Regions from separate parts of the Homo sapiens genome. Here region 1 is linked to region 2. Evidence: promoter capture Hi-C in human tissues and cell types (Jung and others, 2019). All regions are on one chromosome and are shown on one strand. The core of a region is centred on a gene start or on the middle of the fragment in contact, and the rest is flanking DNA. Distances in the headings are between cores, read along the strand shown. Region 1 overlaps IL2RB (interleukin 2 receptor subunit beta). Region 2 holds the start of KCTD17 (potassium channel tetramerization domain containing 17).

Region 1 (3,110 bases), core at 475-2,974, 81 kb before region 2:
ATATTTGCGTGTAACCTACACACACCCTCCCAGAGACTTTAGGTCATCTCCTAGATTACTTATAATACCTAATACCATGTAAATGCTATGTAAATAGTTGTTATGCTGTATTTTAAAAATTTGTATTATTTTTTATTATTGTATTGCTATGAGGGTTTTTTTTTCCTGAATATTTTTGATCAGAGATTGGCTGAATCCGTGAGTGCAGAACCCACGGATCCTGAGTGCTGACTGTATCAGGAGCAGAAAACAGGGAGGGGAAACTTGGCTGGGGCGTGGCCAGGGCTGGTTTCCCTGAGGAAGGGATGATTCTGTTGAAATCTGTAGTGGGAGCCCATGGGGGGTGTGGAGGGGATGGGGAGAGTGTCCCAGGCAGAGGAAACAGCATGTGCAAAGGCCCTGGGCAGGCAGGAGGGAAGAAACTTCCAGGAACAGAGTGCAGGGGCGCTGGTGTGGCTGGAGACAGAAGTGGGTGGGGCAGGAGGCTGAACTTGAGCCTGGGCCTGTGGCGGCAGTGATGCTTCCTGGGGCCTCAGGCTGTGGTGAGGACCTGGGCCGTGTGCCGAGCAGTCATGGAGGGTTTCCCCAGAAGTGGGACAGGATCCACTTCGCCCTCTGTAGCCCTGGCTGCTGTGTGGAGCGTGGCCTGGTGGAGGGCAAAGCGGTGAGGAGGTGACACTTCTGACCGGGGGTTGTGGCCCCCTGATGAGAGCCCTGCTTCTCCCAAGAGGTTTGCAAAGCGTGCCTAGCTGTGTCACCTCACTCGACTTTCCCCAGCACTGGGAAGGCAGTGAGTCAGGGGCTACCATTGCCTTTTAACTGATGCCAGGACTGGCCAGAGAAGTCAGCTGACTTGCCCAAGGTCACATAGCCAGTTAGGAGTGACTGCCGCTCTCCTGACCCTCGTCCTGGAGCAGTGGTTCTCGGCAGTGTTCGGAGCCCCGTTTCCTCTTTCCTCCCAAGAAGACAAGCATTCCTCCACCCACCCGTCCCCTCCGCCCACAGCTCCCTGCAGGCCTTCAGGGAAACCATGTCCCTGTAGAGGGAGAGGTCCTCTCCCAGGCATGGGTTCAGTGGCCTCCAGACTGCCCTCCTCCTTGTCGTTCTTGCGCCCCTTCAGTGCTTTCTCCACCATGTCATTCTCCTGTTTAACACTCTTCAGAGGCCGCTCACTGCGCTGCAGTACACCCTGGCCCTTGAGGGCCTCCACCAGCTGTGTGGAACCTTTGGGCAAATCAAAAATGGTGCCTCTTTCTTCACGGTGATGTACACAGCTTCCAGGCACTCAGCTTAGCAAGCAGAACATGGGCTGGAATTCAGCCTCACTCACCACCACCTTTCCCACTCCCTGCCCAAGCCTAATGCCCTTGGGCAGTGTACAACCTGAACCACCATCCATGGCAGCCCTGACAAGAAAGCCCATCTCCTCTCTCCCGCCTCCTGGTTCATTCCACTTCTTCTAGCCATCTCCGTCCCTGACCACTCTGGCTTGTGTGTTCACCCCCATCGACCCCCACCTCCCCGTCTTGTGTAGCACTGTGCTCTCTGTCTCCACAGAATGAATGGTGATGTTGCAACATGCTTTGTGTCCATCTCCCCATGAGAATGTCAGCTCCTTGAGAGCAGGGACCTCCTTTGTTGGCCATTCTTGTCTCCCCAGTGCCCAACACAGCGTCCTCCCACAGTGAACACTTAGTATCGGCGGAAGAAATACATAAGTAAATGTGGTGCGGCTCCGTGCCTGGCATCCAGAGCTGTGGTGCCGATGGCATAACACCGCGGTCCTTCCCTTTCTCACCCTCCTCCTTCCCTCCTCTCCTCTGTCCAGGCTGAAGAAGGTCCTGAAGTGTAACACCCCAGACCCCTCGAAGTTCTTTTCCCAGCTGAGCTCAGAGCATGGAGGAGACGTCCAGGTAGGAGGCCGGGGCGGGGAGACAGAGGTGGGCAGGGGTGTGAGTGGGATGAGGGGGTGGCAGGTTAGTAGCTAATTTTGTGTTTTGTGAGAGGAGACAAAACGCCGAAGTGAGCAGCCTCCGGGGTGTGCATGGGTCTCTTCTCCAGCTCTGGCACTTTCCATCTGAGCCAGACTGCCTGGGTTCTAATCCCAGCTCCACCACATTCTGGCTGTGTGACCTTGGGCCTATAGAGCCTCCCTGGGCCTCAGTTTCCCCACCTGTTAGATGAGGAGAAAAACAGTGTTACTATGTGTCCTGCCCTGAGTACATTGCCTGGCACGCAGTTAGTGTTCAAAAGAACCCTATCAGGCTGGGTGCAGTGGTTCATGCCTGTAATCCCAGCACTTTGGGAGGCTGTGGCAGGTAGATCACGAGGTCAGGAGTTCGAGACCAGCCTGACCAACATGGTGAAGCCCTGTCTCTACTAAAAATACAAAAATTAGCCGGGCTGGTGGTGCATGCCTGTAATCCCAGCTACTCAGGAGGCTGAGACAGGGGAATCGCTTGAACCCAGGAGGCGGAGGTTACAGTGAGCTGAGATGGCACCACTGCACTCCAGCCTGGGCGACAGAGTGAGACTCCATCTCAAAAAAAAAAAAAAAGTACCCTATCTGGTATTACCGTTGCCGGTGTGCTGAACGAACAGGACCTGCCAGCACAAGCTCTCTCCACCCCACTGTCTGTGCAGACATGCTCTGTGCTTCTCCTGTCCCTGCTCAAAATTCCTGAGCAGGCTCCATAACTTAGCGTGGATACTAACAAGTCTTCCCGTCACTTTGAGTCACAAAACACCGATTCATTTTTAAAGTGCCGGCCCGCAGATCAGTAACGCTCTAAACTCCATCTCAGATTCCGTCGTCTCCTCTTCCCCAGCCCATGCCCCCTTCAGGCAGGAAGCTTCAAGAATGAAGGGGGGACATGGGGGGTACTTTTTACCACCCTAGCCCCACTCTAGGCTCCCAAGATTGGGGGGTGGGGATGAGGTAGGGGCAGAGGGAGGTCAAGAAGAGTGGCGGAGGAGGAAAGCCATGCCGGACCAGAGCTGTCATGACCTGGCTTTGGAGTTCTCTATCAGGGCTGATCAAGGGCCCCTTCTGGAACTCCTTGGAAAACTCCCAAGATGAGAATATCTTAGTTGCAGTGCTTTTATTTATT
Region 2 (3,288 bases), core at 589-3,088:
GTCAACACTGCATTCCTGTCACCCCAGCCTCCGGATGTGACCGTCCACACCTGGCTTCCTAGGAGGCCAGAGAGAAAGGGCGTCACAGCCCACAGCAGAGGCCACAGGGCCTCGCTGACTTCCTCTATCCCCTGCACATGTGTCTCTTCACCTCCCTGACAGTACCCAGGGAAAGCTTGAGCCCGTCCGCTTGGCAGAGCCCCAGGCTCGGCACAGGCAGATGCTTGGGAATCAGCCCCGTCCGACTGGGAAGAGGCAGGAAACAACCAAGCAGGCAGATGGCCGTCCTGGTTGTCCAAATGGCTTGGGGCCTCCACAGAGGGCCCTGGCAGGCTGCATAAGGTCCAGGCCAGCCCCCTGGACCAACTCACCCTCCTCAGCCATGTCCTTGTCCAGCACCAGCTTGCCATGCCGGAGGAAGTTCAGGATGGGCCCGAAGTAGGTGGGGTCACGGTCAATGAGGTAGGCCCCGGTCTCATCCTATGGAGGTGAGGGATGCTCGGTGAGAGAAGAGTGAGGCTTCTCCCCAGCCAACCCCGCACACGCACAGGGAGGGAAGGAGAGTGGAGGGAGAGCTCTTCCCTGGATGGAGCAGGCACAAAGTAGCAAAAAGGCACTGGGGTCAGATGGACCTGAGTTCAAGCCCTGCTTCTGACTCTTCCTGAATGTGTGACCTTAGGCTAATGATTTGGCCTCTTTGAAACTCACTCCTCTCCCCCTAATCAGGGTTTGCTGTGAGCATCCGGTGAGAGGATGTCTGAGTGGCAACTGGCCCAGCACAGGGCTCGAAGAATGTCCCTCTGAGAGGCTGTCCCCTGAAGCCAGCCCCACTGTCGCCCCCAGGTCCCTAGGCTTTCAGGGGATGTTTACAAGTTTCCAAAGGAGTCACTATCTCACTGGACACTCGGGCGGGCAGGGAGGCAGGGTGGGCTTCCATGCGACTCTACAGAGAGATCGGAGACATTGAGAGGTGAGGCGACTTGCCAAAGGCCACAGCATCGGAGGGTCACGGATGGGGGACAGGAGACCTTAGAGGTCATCTTCAGACCAGCCCTTCGTGTTACAGATGAGGAAGGAGGCTGAGCGCAGTGCAGGGAAGGGTCCGACTCAAGGTCGCGGCAGGCAGTGTGCAGCAGAGTCAGGGTGGGTGCTCAGAAATAGTGCCCGCTGGGCCAACGCTCCTTCTAGATTCAGCCCGCTCAGAAGGCGCCCCAGGGCTCCTCCATCCAGCTAGCTCCCTGCACCCCTCCGCCACCCACATCCCAAAGAGCGGGAGAAGTAGCCTCGTCGACTCCTTCCCCAGAGCAGGAGTCCCCTTTGGGAGGGAGGAAAGGTCCCAGGTCTCTCCCTGTCCACAGCCCCAAAGGAGAAGGAGAGGCCCCGATCCGGGGCGGCTGGAGAGCTTCTAATGGCCGCGGCCTGCGTCGTCCCGTTGCCACGGCAATGGGTACATCCCTCACTACCAGACCCACCTCCCCCTCCCCTCCTCCTGCCGCTTCTTCCCGCCTCCAGTTCCTCGGAAATGAACCCGGCCGGGTCCCCAGCCTGGCGGGCGAGCCAGGCCCGACAGCCCCGCGTCGGGCGAGCGGAGGACCCACCGCCCGCTCGCCGCCCACCCCGGGGGCCTCACCCGGTCCGACTGCAGCTCTTCCCCCTGGCACAGGCGGCTGAGGAAGGACTTCTGCTCGCGGCACAGCGTCTGCCGGGTGGTCAGGAACACCGTGCCCCCCACGTTGAGCCGCACCCACTTGCCCCAGCCGCCTGCGGCGCGGCCGCCCGCCCCCGCCGGCGGCGCTGCCTCCCCGGCCTCCATCCTCATCGCCGGCCGCGGCGTCTGCATCCTCCTCCCGGGCGCTGGGGGCGGGCGGGGACCGCACGCGGGGCAGGCCGGGAGCTGTAGTCCGCGCCTCCTGGCTCCGCGTGGGCCGCGGGTAGGGTCCCGCCCCGCGCTGCTCCCGCCCCCGGTCCCGCCCCGCTTCGCCCTTCCCCGCAGGCCCGCAGTCTGGGGTGGTGAAGATGCCCTCTGGCCAAATCACTGTGTATGGGGAAGGTCGAACTCCCGGCCTCTGGGAAAAGAATGAGGGCTTCCCCAAATCTGCAGTCATCCCATGGGTCCGAGCATTCTTGTTTTTCCTTTGTGCCGTCTCCGTCGTCCAACAGCTGATAAGGGAAGAAACTTTCCCCTCCAGGAATCCCCATAGCATTGACCCGCATGTGTTTCGTCATATTTTTTCATTTGCCCTTTGTGTGTATAGGGGTGGGGGCGGGGTGGGTGGGAGTGGGTTCTTTCCCTCACCTGAGTTCTTGGAGAACGACATAGCTGGACTTGAGGTTGGCTGAGCACCTGTATGCCAGACACTTTGTGTATATGTGTTATGAATTTAAGCTCTCAGCAGCCCTGTGAGTCTGGTATTTTGGGCTATACCCATTTTACAGATGAAGCCACAGAAGCGAAGTGACCGCCCTACTCACATTGCTGGTGAGTGAGTACCCACCAAGGTCTCTTTCCTGCTCCCTGACCATGGAATGTCAGGGATCCTTGGGAAAGACTTCTAAGGAGGAAGAGTAGAGCACGCCCTGGATCCGAGTCAGGAGAACTGAGTTTCCATTCTGGCTTTTGGCCTTTCTCAGTTTTTCCACGTCCTCCCTAAGAAGGAGGAGGGATTGGTTCTGCGGGTGGCTTTCTGAGTTATTCCCCAGTTAACTCGGAGGGGAACCGTCATTCTGTGGACCTCAGGATGGGGGAAGGGAGCAGTTCCTCATGTGGTCCGGGACCAGGGAGGGACAAGGGCTGACGAGGAAGCTGTCTCCTTAGCTTCCTCTCCTTACTGGTTTCAGTCCTGGTCCTGGCCTATGGGGGAGAGGTCTGGGGCTCCTCTCACTGATCCAATGTCACACGCAGCTGGCCCGAACACTGGGCAGCCTGGCCCTGTGCTGGGAGAAGTTTCCCTGTTACCACCCAATGCCCTGCTTTCTGCATAAAGCTTTTCTCCTTGGCAGGGAGTGGATCAAAGGTGTACTGGAATCCTGCTACTTAAAATTCACTAGGTGTGTCCTGAGCAACTTCCTCTCTGAGATTGGCTTTCTCTCTTGCCAAATGGGATTTACAACAGTTGTGACCCCAGAGCATTGCTGTGAAGATTAAGTTATGAAATGTCTATAAACATCTAGCGTAGGCTGGGTGCGGTGGCTCACACCTGTAATCCCAGCACTTTGGGAGGCCAAGGCTCGCTTGAGCATAGAAGTTCAAGACCAGCCTGGACAGCATAGTGAGACCCCTATCTCTCT

The links. The method cuts DNA at HindIII sites, captures the fragments that hold promoters and counts their contacts. A contact is called where the count stands out against the background at its distance.
Region 1: a contact is called between a fragment that was not itself captured here and the fragment with the promoter of KCTD17 in region 2, in 4 of the 25 tissues and cell types used here (IMR-90 fibroblasts, lymphoblastoid cells, spleen and 1 more).

The regions. Positions count from the first base shown.
Region 1 is chr22:37,131,187-37,134,296 of GRCh38, reverse strand. It overlaps IL2RB (interleukin 2 receptor subunit beta), which reads left to right. Exons shown (of 10, transcript NM_000878.5): 9 at 1,829-1,913. Among named protein-coding and RNA genes, the nearest start is that of IL2RB, 17 kb to the left of the region's middle. The HindIII fragment of the contact is 9,461 bases long and covers 1-3,110 here.
Region 2 is chr22:37,050,292-37,053,579 of GRCh38, reverse strand. It overlaps KCTD17 (potassium channel tetramerization domain containing 17), which reads right to left and starts at 1,838. Exons shown (of 9, transcript NM_001282684.2): 1 at 1,631-1,838; 2 at 372-480. The coding sequence starts at 1,819. RefSeq lists enhancers at 236-952, 953-1,670 and silencers at 1,607-1,726, 1,737-2,046. The HindIII fragment of the contact is 12,846 bases long and covers 1-3,288 here.